5 separate regions of the Homo sapiens genome follow, and regions 2, 3, 4 and 5 are each linked to region 1. Evidence: promoter capture Hi-C in 16 types of primary human blood cells and fetal thymus (Javierre and others, 2016). All regions are on one chromosome and are shown on one strand. Each heading gives the region's core, a stretch centred on a gene start or on the middle of the fragment in contact. The rest is flanking DNA. Distances are from core to core; before and after follow the strand shown.

Region 1 (2,859 bases), core at 243-2,742:
GTAACTGAGTAAAGCTCTTAAACTCTACTGCAAATATCCCTGGATTCCAATGAATTTGTCTTACTTAGTAGACATAGCAACACATATTGTTTTATTTATGTATTTATGTATAAGCAAAGCCTTAACAACTTTTATATTCCAAATACTCAGCACGATTTATTTATTTCCTTTTTAGAAAGAGATGAAACAATGATGCCGTGGAAGGTTAAAAAAAGAGTAACATAAAATGTGCTGGAAACAGAAATTACTTGGAGAAATTACTTGTTTAATTCAAATGAATTAAACGAGATATAGTCTACAAAGAAGTCTGGGCTCCCTATTACTGGTTGATGCTGAAAATCTATCTAAGGAATTCAGAGTAACATTGTCTCCCTTCTATTTGGGTACGTATAAAATAAATGTAGTCTTAAGTATTTTCTAAAAACGAGACCATATTACATGTTTATCATTAAATGTTATTTTTAAAAACATTTGGACAAAATCTTTTGAGTGGCTTCAAATTCACCAAAGATTCCCTAACGTTTTGTGTTTACAAATATATGTATATATTTTATAATATATATTTCTAATATGTAATATATTTATAAATATTTTAAAACATATTTTATACATATAAAATATATATTTTTGCAAATATATATGCTTATTATTAAAACCTATCTTTGTGCGCCTGTTACATAGGGAACTCCTATAAGATACTAGAGGAAACAAACAAGGGGAAGGGGAGGATGGATACCAAGAGAGGAAATTGAATTGTACAAAGGGTTTTTATTAATTCCATCTATTTTTAAAGCCAGAAAGACATACTACCAGCTTGCTGTCTCCCGGCACAAACATGCGCGCGCGCGCACACACACACACAAACACAGACAGGCTACATCAGCACGGGATTCCTGCGATCCCTCCCCGCCCCCCGCAGCCCCCTCCCCGCCCCCCGCAGCCCCCTCCCCGCCCCCCGCAGCCCCCTCCCCGCCCCCCGCAGCCCCCTCCCCGCCCCCCGCAGCCCCCTCCCCTGGCGCAGGCAGCCGCGTCCGTCCTTCCCGCGGTAGCTCCGCGCACTTCCTCGCGACCGCATCACCTACCTTGCTGGGAGCTCAAGACAGATGCCGGACAGGGCTGCTGCTCCGAAGGAAAAGGCTCCCAGGACCAGCAGTAAGAAAACGCAAAGAAAAAAAGGTGGTAGTGAGGCTCCTTTACTTTCCACAACAAGGGGAAGTGTTGAACTCTATGCACTGGGCTGCTCCGCAGCGCGGGTTTCGGAGGAAATAGGCGGCCGAGAGAGCTGCGCCTGCGATGGGAAGTTGGGGGGATTCCCCCAGCCACCCAGCCACCCCCGCCAGGCTCCTCTCTGGTCCCCGCCGCAGCCTTGACAGCTCCCCTGGTCTCCGAGCCCCTCCAGAGCCCTGCTGGTTTCCACCCGGAGCTGGGCTGTGTTGCCACATGCACTTGAGAAATCCTAGCAGTTGCGCAAAGAGTCCCAGAAGTTAGAAAGGGTGATTGTGTGTGAATGTGTAAATATACAGTACAAGAGGCTGGAACAACTGAGTGGGGCCAACCCTCAGACACAGCTCGAGGTTTCAGATTTCATTTGGCAACTGGTAGCTTCACAGGACTCGAGCCGCACTACAGGGGAGGCCGGCAGGAGCCCCGCCCTCCCAAAGCCTGGGTTATCTGAGAGCTGGAGCTACACCGCCTGGCGCCACTGACAGAATGCGCCCTGCCTGGTTCCTCCGCATCTGGCATCGCTCGTTCCTTTCAAGTGCATCATAGATACTTGTTGGCCACAGATCTGGGGCTGTGGGCGCGAGAAGGTTGGTGAATACATGTCTCCTGCCCTCAAGGAGCTCTGCATTTCATTGGCCAAACCCCATACACCGGTTTTACTTGCTTCTACCAACTCTGTCTCGCTAACATTTTATTTCTCCAATTAGAATTACCTGGGCCATTAAAGCAATATTCCTGGAAATGCACATTTAGATGGATGCTCTCTAACTAGAGCCTTAGAGAAATTCAAAGTATAATTACTTTCTTACGGTGGTGTAAGAACTCTCGGAGTTACACAATATGGGACAAAAGGACAAACTAGTAAACATTGTTTTGATGCAGGCCGTCTCTTCCCACCATCACCACAATGTCTGTTTCAAATTGTGATCTTACAGTTCTGGTTACCTGGCATGCTGAGTCAAATTATTTCAAAAAGCTTTGTAAAGATCTCTGTTTTAGAAACCCACTTACAGTGGATCAGTCATGCAATCCTAGCACTTTGGAAGGCTGAGGCAGGAGGATCGCTTGAGCCCAGGGGTTTCAGACCAAAATTGGCAACATAATGAGACTCCTGTCTCTATAAAAAAAAAATTAAAAAAATAAAAAAAAAGTTGGGCGTGGCGGCGTATGTCTGTAGTCCCAGCTACTCAGGAGGCTGAAGCGGGAAAATCCCTTGAGCCCAGGAGGTCAAGGCTGCAGTGAGCTATAATTGTGCCAGCGCACTCCAGCCTAGGTGACGGAGTGACACCCCCGTCTCGAACAATTACTACTGCTACTACTAATAAAAGAAACTCTCTTTTAGAAATCATCACCAGATATCCTTAAGACACAGAATGGGGGTGTCCTCACTAGGGATCTCCAGTGAGAGAGGGATATGGAAGAAGAGCAAATGTTTAGTTTTAGAAACACCAAAAATAAAAGGCTGAGTGGACACTGATATGTTTTTCCTTTTTGTCCTCTTTCTCCAAGTTCTTGGAGAAACGAATCTACCCCATCCCATGCTGAGGTCCTACTATAAACTTGATTTTCTGGTGGGAGAATTCTCAGCCCTTTAATGAATCAAATTAATTTGTGTGGGGAAAAAATTGCGTTTCA
Region 2 (2,859 bases), core at 199-2,698, 64 kb after region 1:
AAATAGTTCCAGGTAAAAATCTAAGACAAATACGTGTCAACGACTGATGCTGAATAGTCCTTAATTATCAGTGGCATGTGTAAGAGAACAAATAAGCCATTCCAAGCTTAAAACACATAAATAAAATAGAGAAAATTATGCGTGACATTTCTTCTGGAATCTGCATTTATTTGCAAAATGCAGATAATTTTTATTCTGAAAGAGGAAAAGCACCGAAAATACATCTTTGCAAAGATAACTCTTCCGATTGGGAACTTTATCCTGCTGTTACATTTTCTCTGGCACCTGACTCCTTCAAGTACATCACTGTTTTCTGTATCTATAGTATCTTCCTCTCCACTGGTTTATATATTTTTAGCTCATTTGAACATATCTAGATGTCCTCTTTTGTTTAAAAAAATAAAATTATTTTTAACAATGCTTTCCTTCACTTCTTTTTGAAAAACAGTTTATTCTTAGTGTCTTCACTTCTAATAATTCTTTAAAATACTCACTTATTCATCTATTCATTAATTCGACAACTATTATTAAGTATGTACTATACATAAAACATTGCAGTAAGTGCTGTTGGAAAAATATATATATAAATAATTGTGTCCCATGTTTATCCTATCATCTACTTTCAATAAAAAACTGATTCAATAAGACTAAATCATTATAATTTAATAATTGATTACATGTAATTTCTTCCAGAGATTTGCATGTTTTAAGGTTTTTCAAAGCTACGCTTTAACTTCTAGTGGTAGAATTCAGGCACCAGGAAGAAATATGTTTTGAAAGGGACCACTGCCTCTGTCTGTGCTGGGATTGAATGGGAAGCTAGAGAAGAGGCAACAGTAGACAGCAAAGTAGAGGTGATTGAAAAGGGGGAGACAGAATGAGATAGAACTGGTGAAAGCAGGATTTCAATCATGGCTGATTTTGCTTCCCAAGAGACGTTTGGCAATATCTGGAGACATGTTTGGTTGTCACACAGGCCAGGTGGTGCTAATGGCATCTTGTGAGTAGAAGGCAAGAATGCTGTTAAACATCCTGCCATGCACTCGACGGCGCCCATGACAAAATTATCCAGCCCAAAATGTCAATATTGTTGCAACTGGAGAAACTCTGGTTTAAAGGAATGAGTATGAATTTTCTTTCTTTCATTGCATACCATGGCAGTGATGATCAGATAGCAATTCGTAAATGGTAGAGTAGGCCTATGTTCTATAGGAAGACAAGTCCTGATAACATTCTGTCAATGTTTAGGAAACAACACAATTCTTTTCATACAAACAAGGTGGCAAGAGAACTAGAGAGAAAGGGAGAGAGAGCAGCTATGTATTGTCAAAGGCACTGGGCTGCTTGCTCCTCAGATACCTGGGTTTGAATCCAGCCTCACATCCTCAGATAACTGGGTTTGAATCCAGCCTCACATCCTCAGATACCTGGGTTTGAATCCAGCCCCACATTTACAAGTACTGGTGACTTGGACAAGTCACTAAAAATGTCACTAATCTAGTTTTCTCATCTATGAAAATAATCTAATAGGGTAAAGGACTAGAACAGATAACATCCAAGAATGTGTCTGGCACATACCAACAACTACATGGCTTACATCTATGGAGCTCTTACTGTTTGGCATTGTTCTAAGCATTTTGTATGTATTAACTCATTCAGTCTCATAATCAAAGATGGGTTAGGTAGTAGTATCTTCTCCATTTTATCAGATAGGCAAATCTAGGCATAGAGGTATTAAATGACTCTCTTAAGATTGAAGGACAGAGCCCACACACTCTCACTAAGTTTTTCAGAAGTGTTGGTTGATCAGTTGCCTCAGACATTAAAGATAATTAAGTAGGAGGAGAACTGTTTGGTCAACAAATTATTCTTAAGTGTCTACTATGTGCTAGTCACTAGAGCTAGAGTAATGAGTATTTTAGTCTATGCTGCTACAACAAAATACCTGTAATTATTGGATAATTTATTATTCTGGAGGCTGGGAAGTCCACAATCAGAGTGCTGGCAGGTTTGGTTGTGTGAAGAGGGCCACTCTCCACTTCCAGTATGGTGCTTCATTACTGCATCCTCTGGAGGGATGGAATGCCGTGTCCTCACTTGGTGGAAAACCAAAAAGCAAGCTAACCCAACACTGTGCGAAGCCTTTTATAAGGGCCTTCATCTCGGTTTCAAGGGAAGGAGCCCTCATAACTTAATCACCTCTTAAAGGCTCTACCTCTTAATACAAATCACAAATACAATCACATTGGCCATTAAGTTGCAACACCTGAATTTTGGAGAAGATACAGACATGCACTGGAGATATGGCAGGTTCAGTTCAGACCACCTCTTCATTCTCAATAAAGACAATGTGTCAATAAAGTGAGTCTCAAAAATTTTTTTATTTCCCAGTGCATATAGAAGTTAGTTTATACTATACTGTAGTCTATTAAGTGTGCAACAGCATTATGTCTAAAAAGCAATGTACATACCTTAATTTTAAAATACTTTATTGCTAAAAATGCTAACGATCATCTGACACAGAGACACAAAGTGAGCCCATGCTGATGAAATGAAAAAATAGCGCCAAAAGACTTGCTTGATGCAGGGTTGCTACAAACCTTCGGTTTGTACAAAAAGCAAAGGAAAAAAGAAAAGGAAAAAATGCAACATCTGTGAAGTGCAATAAAGTGAAGTGCAATAAAACAAGGTACACATGTACCTTCAAACCATAGCAATGAGTGAAACAGATATGGCACCTGCCCACATGTAACTTACAACATCAGCTAGTATGCACAAAAGAAAAGCTTGTAAATGATGTGAATTCCCAGACTCATCTCTGAGAATCCAGTTTGGTTTATCTGTAGCAGGGCTCAGGAT
Region 3 (2,859 bases), core at 215-2,714, 54 kb before region 1:
AACAGTCGACAAATGCTTTCCAAATACCTTTGTCCTGAAAAATGAGGGTATTAAAAACATACAGTAGAGAGCACTGAGGCATGGTGTTCTAGAAGACCTCCAAAGTAAGAACCCCTTTGAACCAGTGGAAGAGGTGAAGAAAATATTCTTGCAATAGCTGAATATCGCAGTGAAACAGTCAAGACCAAATATCCAGATACGGGAAGTTCTGATGATAAGGTAGTGCCACTCTGTGTGGATGAATTAACAGTTTATCGTAATTCTCATTCATTTGGAAAGTGAAGTATATATTTGTGAACTCATAGGTTTCATATCTAATGCTCTTTTACTATTTTATACCCACTAGTCTCCTACTTTTAAAACAAAAATTAAAAGTAGCTTGAAAATATTTACTTGTTGACTAGATTTGGAGGAGTATATGGGACTTCAATTTTTTTTAATTAAGAGTACATCTGTTTTGTAATAGAACTGAAAAGTAATACTTTCACCATAGATATATGTACCTGAGAGTGAGCTCCATTTTCTCCATATATTCATAAATCTGACAAATATTAATTGAATATCACTCTAGTATCTGACATTATGAATATAAAAGGAATGGACTTAACCAACTCTCAAAAGAAATAAAATGAAAAGAGTTTTTTTTAAAATAGTACAATATTTGCATGGTTGAATACAGAAATAAAGGAATAACCCTCATAGTCAACCAGATGTCACATCAGGTTTTGCTGACCATTCAAATGGGATACACAACTCAGGAGAATGACATATTTTTATTGTCTGCTAATCATCATTTAGAATAATGGTTCAATTAGGAGTGATTTTGTCACATCTCCCACTCCACAGAGGACATTTGGCAATATCTGGAGATACTTTTGGTTGTCACATTGGGAAGGGAGTTTCTACTGGCATCTAGTGAATAGAGGCTAAGGATGATGCTTGACATCCTACAATACCCAACAGTTTGGTTCCAACAACAAAGAATTATCTGCCAAAAATATCAGCAATGCTGAGATTGAGAAACCTTAATTCAGAATGTCTAAATGGTGTTGAAAAGCCAAAGGAAGGCTGATGCAAAGAATTTCTGGCCAGTTGAACTTCAGTAGGTTCTCCGACAGGTTTCAGCAATATTTTATTCTTAATCAGCAATAATCTTACACTGAAAATCAGAATGTCAGACCAAGCTAAGCCAGTATTTTCATAGTCCAAAATTTAGCAAAATTGATTTATAAAGAACAGGTGCTTTATTTAATCAGACTTAGGAGTAGCATGCCACAACATTATCACAATGTACTTGTCAAAAGCTATAATTTGATTTATGACTGGTGAGCCTAGAATAGTCATAGACTCTTTCTGGGAAGAAATTCAAGTTCAATAGAATCCTTGATGACAACAAAAAAATTAGTTTTTACTATATGTGCACATACCTTCAAAATATTTGTACTCTGATGTACCACAGTGACTACTACTGGATATACATGAGAAGAATTTTGCTACCACTGAACATGATCAGCTCAGGAGTAGTCAAGATGATATTACGTATTTGTCTCAGATCCCAATACTGACCTCTATCTTTGATAGTATTGAATAGACAAGCATCAATGAAATATGATCAGCTCAAGAGTAGTCAAGATGATATTATGTATTTGTCTGAGACACCAACACTGACCTCTATCTTTGATAGTATTGAATAGACAAGCATCAATGAAATATTATCATAATTATAATCAACAGAAACAAGTAGTTCTTTGTTACTGCCTATGCAGAGGACATGACGTGGAGATAGTACATGTCCAATTATAATAATCTAGGATTCATGTATATGCAAAAGACAGACACGCAATATTAATCTGTTTGAACTTTACTTAACAAACACATAGTTTGTTAAGAGCTTTGAAAAATATTAACTCACTTAATCCTCATGTCAACCCAATAAATTAGATGCAATTCTAATCCCCATATTTTACAGATGAGGAAACTGAGATACAGAAAGGTTAATTCTCGCAACTGCCATCAAAACCGAATTACATCTTGCCTATATTGTTGTTACAATTGCCATCTGATCTTCCATCCCCATCTTTCTCCCTCCAATCCATATTGTACACTAACACCAGAAATTTTTTGTGTGTACATACCTACTCATAATTTTTCTCCTTAAAAAACTCCAGTGGCTCCTGATTTCTTATTGGGCTATTACAATTAAAAATAAGCAATAATATTTTTAGCAATCATAGCTAATATTTTTTTCTTGCCTTCTATGCAGCCCTACATTAAGCACAATGTATTATTATCATGTATAAACCCAACTGATGTGGTGTGGAATACAGTGTCTGCTACAATCTGACCCAATCTCTGTCTTTTTCCATTCTTCTTTGTATGGACTGGTCCTTTCTTTCAGTGATTCTCTTCCCTTTCTATTTCAGTCCTATTCTTCAGCTCTCGCAGGGTTAGGTGTTCTATTCATTGTCTTTACAATGCAGCACAAACATAACACTGCTATTGTAGCACTCACCCTGTCATTTTGTAATCTATTGTTTATATGCCTGTCTCCTTTGTCAGTGTTTGAGAAATTCATTCCAGATTCACTTATGTTCCTGACACATAAAAGGTACTAATCAAACGTTGAATATATGTCTCAGGAAATCAGAGGAAGAAATTAATTGTTTGTTATCAATGCTGAGTAGCAGAAAAATCCATACCTACTTCTTGGATCAAATGAGAGGATTCTGCACATGAGGTGAAATTTCAAGAGTCATTTAAAATACAGAAGGAAAGCAATACTTGCCAGGTTTGAGAGGCAGTATTTCTATATTCAAAATGATGCTTGGGAAACAGGATGAGAATGAGTATACAAAAAAC
Region 4 (2,859 bases), core at 238-2,737, 33 kb after region 1:
GTATTATATGTAAATTATAGTTTTTAGTCTTTAGACTTAAAAAATCTATTATGACAATTTATATACAAACTATAGGGAGAAGTTTAGACTTTAATTTTTGCCATCTGTTCAGAAATGTGCCTACATTTGCAAATTTTCATATTCAAAAACTATACAGAGGTGTGAGCGGATTGGGCCCCTGGAATTACATGTATTACATGTTTTAGATTATTGAAATATACCAACCACCACTACAGTTAAGTGTTTGTGGTCTAGTGTTGGGGTTTGAAACATACATTATTGACTCTATACCTTTCAAAGCAGGCACAATTCATCCAGTTTTGCAGATCAAGACACGTAGGTACAGAGAGTTTAGATAACTTGGCCAATTTCCTAAGTGGTAAAGTAGGGATTTGAAACCAACTCTGTCTGTTTCTGAAGCATTTTCTATTTATTGCCTCATTTAATCCCCATAACAATCCTTTAAACTAGGTGGGTGGCTGGTCTTTGTTTCAGTTAATAGAATATGAAAGTAAAGATAGAAAGTTCAAGTGACTTGCCAAAGAAACACAGTAAGTAACAAACTGAGAGTTTCCGAGTCTAAAAATCTGTGCTTTTTGAATTCAATTGTTGAATTAAAGTTGCCCTGCATTTACAATCAACAAACTTGGTTCAATCAACAGAATGAGCATCGTCTTCTATTTGAGCGATCTTGAGTAAGCTACTTAATTTTCCAATATTCCAAAAATGATAATAGGCATGTCCAGGTGCTATTGTAATACTTAAATAAAATTAATTTATGTAAAGTGTATGCAACAAACTTGATCAGAGTAGGTGTTCACTTAATAATTTTGAGCCCCTTCTCTTTGAATCTGAATAGATGTGGCTTTAGAGAACTACATTTGCATCTACATTTAGAAATAGAAACAGAGAATAGAAAATGGAGGTCTCCAAAGGAATAATATTAATTAAATAGTGCTACTAAATTATAAAGATTAAGGGTATTGGAGAAGTCAATTTGAAGCCAAACACAAGCAGATATTTTTTCACATACTGAATTCAGTATGTGCAAAATATAATTGTCATTTACTTGTACCTCAAGGAGAAAGCTGAGAATAAATAAGTGTGCTTGTTTCTCCCAAAGAGCCATCCAACGTCACATGCTAACATAATTGGTCTTTTGGCCCCTTTGCGATTATTCCCCATGTTTAATAACACTCAAAGATTTATGAAATTCCCTCTCTAAATTGTCTTTATTCATTAATGCTAATAGTATACTAGATTTCTTTCTATTTGTCTCTGGATTTCTTTTCTTTATACTGTTGAGTGCTATGATTTCAGGAGAAGTTCACTCTGTCATACCACTTGAGTGATAAAGCTAATAATAATGATTAGTTGTCATAGTAATAACTTGTTTAGCAGTTTTCTAGGTATATTTTGTCTAATTCTTTTTATTTTTATAACAACCCTATTATAGAACCCATAGGTAGATATTTTTATCCGCATCTTGCATATGGAAAGAATGAAGCACAGAGAGATTAAGAAACTTGTCCATGGTCTCACTGTTGTTAAGAGGTGGATTGGTTTCAAACCCGCAATATAGCACCAACCTAGGCTGGTAACCACTACTCATCATGCCTCTCTGCAAGCTAAAGTGGTCTTGCTTGTCAAACAGAAAAAAGACTCAATGCATTCAAGGAATGCCTTTTAAATGATCCTTTCTGGGAGAGGATTAATACAGCTATATTCTTTAAAAAAAAACTTATATTAGCAAATTAAATTGATACATTTGTAAAATTATTTAAGATGTCAAAAAAATCAGACAATTATTTACAAGTCTATATATGTTTAACTCTCTCTCTCTTTTATGATGCAACACAATTAAAATTAAACCTTATTTGATCATTGCCACGTTGTGACTGTCAAGAGTGGCATCTTCCATTTGTTGGAATAAGTGAGCCTGGTCTCACAATGCTGAGTCTGTGAATTTTTACAGTTTTAGAAAATAAATGTTAATAATTGCACAGGAAGTTCCTTGTAAGTGATTTGCTATAGAATAATTTTACTTTAATAATGCAAAAGTACAGAGTAAAAAAAAACTGCAACTCAAAATGTTTTTATTGCTCCACTTTCTTTTCTATCAAGGACATGGCTATAGAAATCATCTCAGTTTTTTAGTTGTCTGTTGATTTGCCTTAGGTTTTAAGGCCATTCCATCTTCTCTCGGCTGGGTAGCACATTGAGATCTCAGTCCACATGTGACTCAAAAGATTGATGTGGGATCCTGCAAGGAGTACCAAGATGGCCTTCCAAGTGATATATCCTCACAATCGAGATGAAAGATGGCCTTTCTTTCTCTACTACTTTGCCAAACACAGTTGCTGCCATTCTGTTGTAAACTAAGGCCTCCCAAATACAGACAAAACAACTATGCTTTTAGCTTTGGCTAAGTAGCTTTCTTAAAAGTCATTTTCACCCTTATAGAAAGGATAGTGGGAAGACTGGATGAAAATCTCCACCTCCATGTTAACTCATTTTTGCTCTCTGTGTCAGCTGGACTTGGAAAACAGTATCTTAGAGAATATGACTGCATGTTCCTCATGACTTCTATGCTTCAGAATTGCAGCAAATGTCAGTCTAAGGCAACTTAAAAAGTTTTTAGGTGCTATAAGACTATATCTTCTCGGGGGTTAATGCCTTCACTGGTTACAAATACATGAGAAAACTTTTTAATTGATATCATCATGTTCAGTATGTATATTGGCTTGAGAGGCAGGAGAATGCCAAAATAATTGTTTTAGGATATTAGTGTACATGTCTGCTTCTTTGCTTTGCCTTATTTGTCTTCATAGCACTTATTACCTGAAACTATGCGAGATA
Region 5 (2,859 bases), core at 156-2,655, 36 kb before region 1:
TTTTCAACATCTACAGTGCACAAACTATAATGGCCCTGAGTGACTGAAATTTAATATCTAATGTGCAACTACACTAAGCCAGGTACTAAGCTTGGGTGTCTAACTAGAGCAGCAATAAAAATAACAACCTAAATAATAGTGACTAAACAAATGGCTAATCTATACTTGTACTTACTATGTGCCAGGCATTTTACTAAGCATTATCTCATTTAATCCTCACAGCAGTATGAGGTGAGAACTAGAATTACCTACGTTACAGTTGAGGCTCAGTGAGGCTAAGTAATTTGACAAAGGTCACATAGTTACTTCGTGGAGGAAATGAGACTTGAACTCAGAATGGGACATGGGTTGAATTGTGTGCCCTCAAAAGATACATTGAAGTCCTGACCCCCACTACCTCAGAATATGGCCTTATTTGGGAAACAGGTTTGTGGCAAACATAGTTAAACGGATGCCATAAGGGAGTAGAATGGCCTCTAGTGCAACATGACTGATGTCCTCATAAGCAGAAGGCTGGGTGATGACAGTGAGACCCACAGGGAGAGCACCATGTTATGATGAAGGCAGAGATTAGAGTTATGCAGCTGCAAGCCAAGGATTTCCAGCAAACCACCAGAAACTAGGAAGAGGAAAGGAAGGATTCCCCCACAGGCTTCAGAGGGAGCGTGGCCCTCCTGACACTTTGATTCTGCACTTCTAACCTCCAAAACCATTAGACAGTGAATTTCGGCCAGGCGGGTTGGCTCACGCCTGTAATCCCAGCACTTTGGGAGGCCGAGGCGGGTGGATCACCTGAGGTCGGGAGACTGAGACCAACCTGACCAATGTGGAGAAACCCTGTCTCTACTAAAAATACAAAAAAATTAGCCAGGCATAGTGGCGCATGCCTGTAATCCCAGCTACTCGGGAGGCTGAGGCAGGAAAATTGTTTGAACCCGTGAGGAAGAGGTTGCAGTGAGTCGAGATCACACCATTGCACTCCAGCTGGGCAACAAGAACAAAATTCCATCTCAATAAAATAAAATAATAAAATAAAATAATAAAATAAAATAAAATAAAGACAGTGAATTTCTTTTGTTTAAAACCACCCAGTTTGTGGTACTTCGTTATAGCAACCCTAGAAAACTAATACAGTGCCTAACTCCAAAGCCTTCGGAGGGCACATCAGTTGAAAGTCTTTCCTAGATCGTTAAAGAAACATTTAATTACACATAGAAGAGATATAATTTTTCAATTTTATTAGATTCCAAGTTACATAAAGATCTCCAGAAGACAGATTTTAAAAAAATCAGAATTCTTATTTTCTGCCTCAGTTGTGGTAAGCACAATTTTTGTAATTATTTTAAAATGTTTTCTAAAATAGCTTAATTCTATCCTTTTGAATTACTGGAATAACCAATATTTATTCTGAAGCAATTTTCATTTTCAAAAAGGATTCTTTGTATTTTATGGGTGGCCGTTAGATGGCTTTATTTGAATTACCATACTATAAGAACTCCTCTAGAAGAAACAGACTAATACTAGGGTGGGTAAACAAGACAAGTTTACATAATATACCGTTACTATGCAGCCAGCATTTTACCAGAGCAGAGGCATGGGTTCTCCTTTCCAAAGAAAGTAATGGCGATGAGAATAGAGACTCAGAGGAAGAGAGAGAGAGCGAGAGAGAAGGAGGAGGAGGAGGAGGAGGAAGGGGAGGGGCTAGAGGAGGGGGAGGAGGAGGAGGAGGAATGTATTAAAGACTTATTGCCATGAAGGTGACAAGGAAATAAATGACCATAAGAGGAAAAGCAGGGTACATAGAGCAGTGGAAAAAAAATGAGCCTGGAGAGGGGAGAGGAGGCTCCTGGAGAACCTGGGAAGGACAGGGGAGGGAGGGGAAGACGGGGAAGACAAGGGGGAGAGAGGGGAGGGAAGAAGGAGAAGGAAAGAGATAAAAAGGAAGGCAAGAGAGGGAAAGGGGTTGGGAGAGTGAGGGGGAGAGGGGAGGGAGAGAAGGAAAAAGAAGGGAAGAAGGCAAACGGGTAGAGAGAGGGAGAAAAAGAAAGGGAGAGAGAGGGAAAGAGAAGGAGTGAAAGAAAGGGGAGTGGTACATTAGGAGGGAAAATATGCTGAATATGTGTGAAGGTGCGAAATTTGGTCTTTCTGTTCATTGGCATGCATAGCAAATATTTTCCTCAGGGTCTTAGTGCCAGCTGACACAGAATGAAATAAGACACATTCCATGGCACTTTCACAATGATAAGTATCTGGTCAAAAACCCAATGGAGGAAAATACTCTTATAAAACTCTCATTTTTTATTTTTCTCATCTTGGCAAAGTCTTTTCTCTGAAACAAAAGAGCAGTGTATATTCCTGTCACTTTATTTTGAAGAGTCCCTTTTAAGAGCCGCCACATCACATGCAATACTTGATCACTCTCAAAGTCCAAGTTCTTTAGTGCCAAGAGCCAAGTGTGCTTTGGCTTGATCTTTGAGAACTATTTCTGAATAGTAAAGATCAAGGGGCATCCATATGGAGGCGCATCTTGCCACCACTCTATCTTTGTGCTGTTCAAATATTGTATTTATTAGGACCAGGACTTCCTAGTAATAAACAGAATCACAGCATCCGATAATACAAAAGGGGCATTTTAAATGTAATATATTCCATTTATAAGTATATATTACATATTATAAATATAAATGTGAACATAATTAAACATCACATGAAAAGCTTCCAGGTTCAAACAAAGTGAAATCATTCTTCAATATAATCAAACCAGGAAAAGCATCATAATTAAGTAAAATGAAAGTCAGGAGCATTAAAAGAACAGATCCCAGACCAGATCTTTATTGTGCTTTAACAATAAACATGCTA

Evidence for each region. Contacts are between HindIII fragments. The CHiCAGO score rates a contact against its expected background, and 5 or more counts as called.
Region 2: a fragment that was not itself captured here is called in contact with the fragment with the promoter of ARHGAP24 in region 1 in 1 of 17 cell types (total B cells); the score reaches 5.1 in total B cells.
Region 3: a fragment that was not itself captured here is called in contact with the fragment with the promoter of ARHGAP24 in region 1 in 2 of 17 cell types (total B cells and naive B cells); the score reaches 13.2 in total B cells.
Region 4: a contact is called between a fragment that was not itself captured here and the fragment with the promoter of ARHGAP24 in region 1, in 1 of 17 cell types (total B cells). The highest score is 5.2, in total B cells.
Region 5: a fragment that was not itself captured here is called in contact with the fragment with the promoter of ARHGAP24 in region 1 in 1 of 17 cell types (total B cells); the score reaches 9.3 in total B cells.

What each region holds. Positions count from the first base shown.
Region 1 is chr4:85,473,783-85,476,641 of GRCh38, reverse strand. ARHGAP24 (Rho GTPase activating protein 24) reads right to left here and starts at 1,492. Exons shown (of 10, transcript NM_001025616.3): 1 at 1,083-1,492. The HindIII fragment of the contact is 5,990 bases long and covers 1-2,202 here.
Region 2 is chr4:85,409,757-85,412,615 of GRCh38, reverse strand. No RefSeq gene overlaps it. Among named protein-coding and RNA genes, the nearest start is that of ARHGAP24, 64 kb to the left of the region's middle. The HindIII fragment of the contact is 2,680 bases long and covers 109-2,788 here.
Region 3 is chr4:85,527,691-85,530,549 of GRCh38, reverse strand. All of the region lies in intron 1 of ARHGAP24 (Rho GTPase activating protein 24), which reads right to left. Among named protein-coding and RNA genes, the nearest start is that of ARHGAP24, 54 kb to the right of the region's middle. The HindIII fragment of the contact is 3,597 bases long and covers 1-2,859 here.
Region 4 is chr4:85,440,590-85,443,448 of GRCh38, reverse strand. No RefSeq gene overlaps it. Among named protein-coding and RNA genes, the nearest start is that of ARHGAP24, 33 kb to the left of the region's middle. The HindIII fragment of the contact is 4,329 bases long and covers 1-2,859 here.
Region 5 is chr4:85,509,634-85,512,492 of GRCh38, reverse strand. All of the region lies in intron 1 of ARHGAP24 (Rho GTPase activating protein 24), which reads right to left. Among named protein-coding and RNA genes, the nearest start is that of ARHGAP24, 36 kb to the right of the region's middle. The HindIII fragment of the contact is 2,625 bases long and covers 93-2,717 here.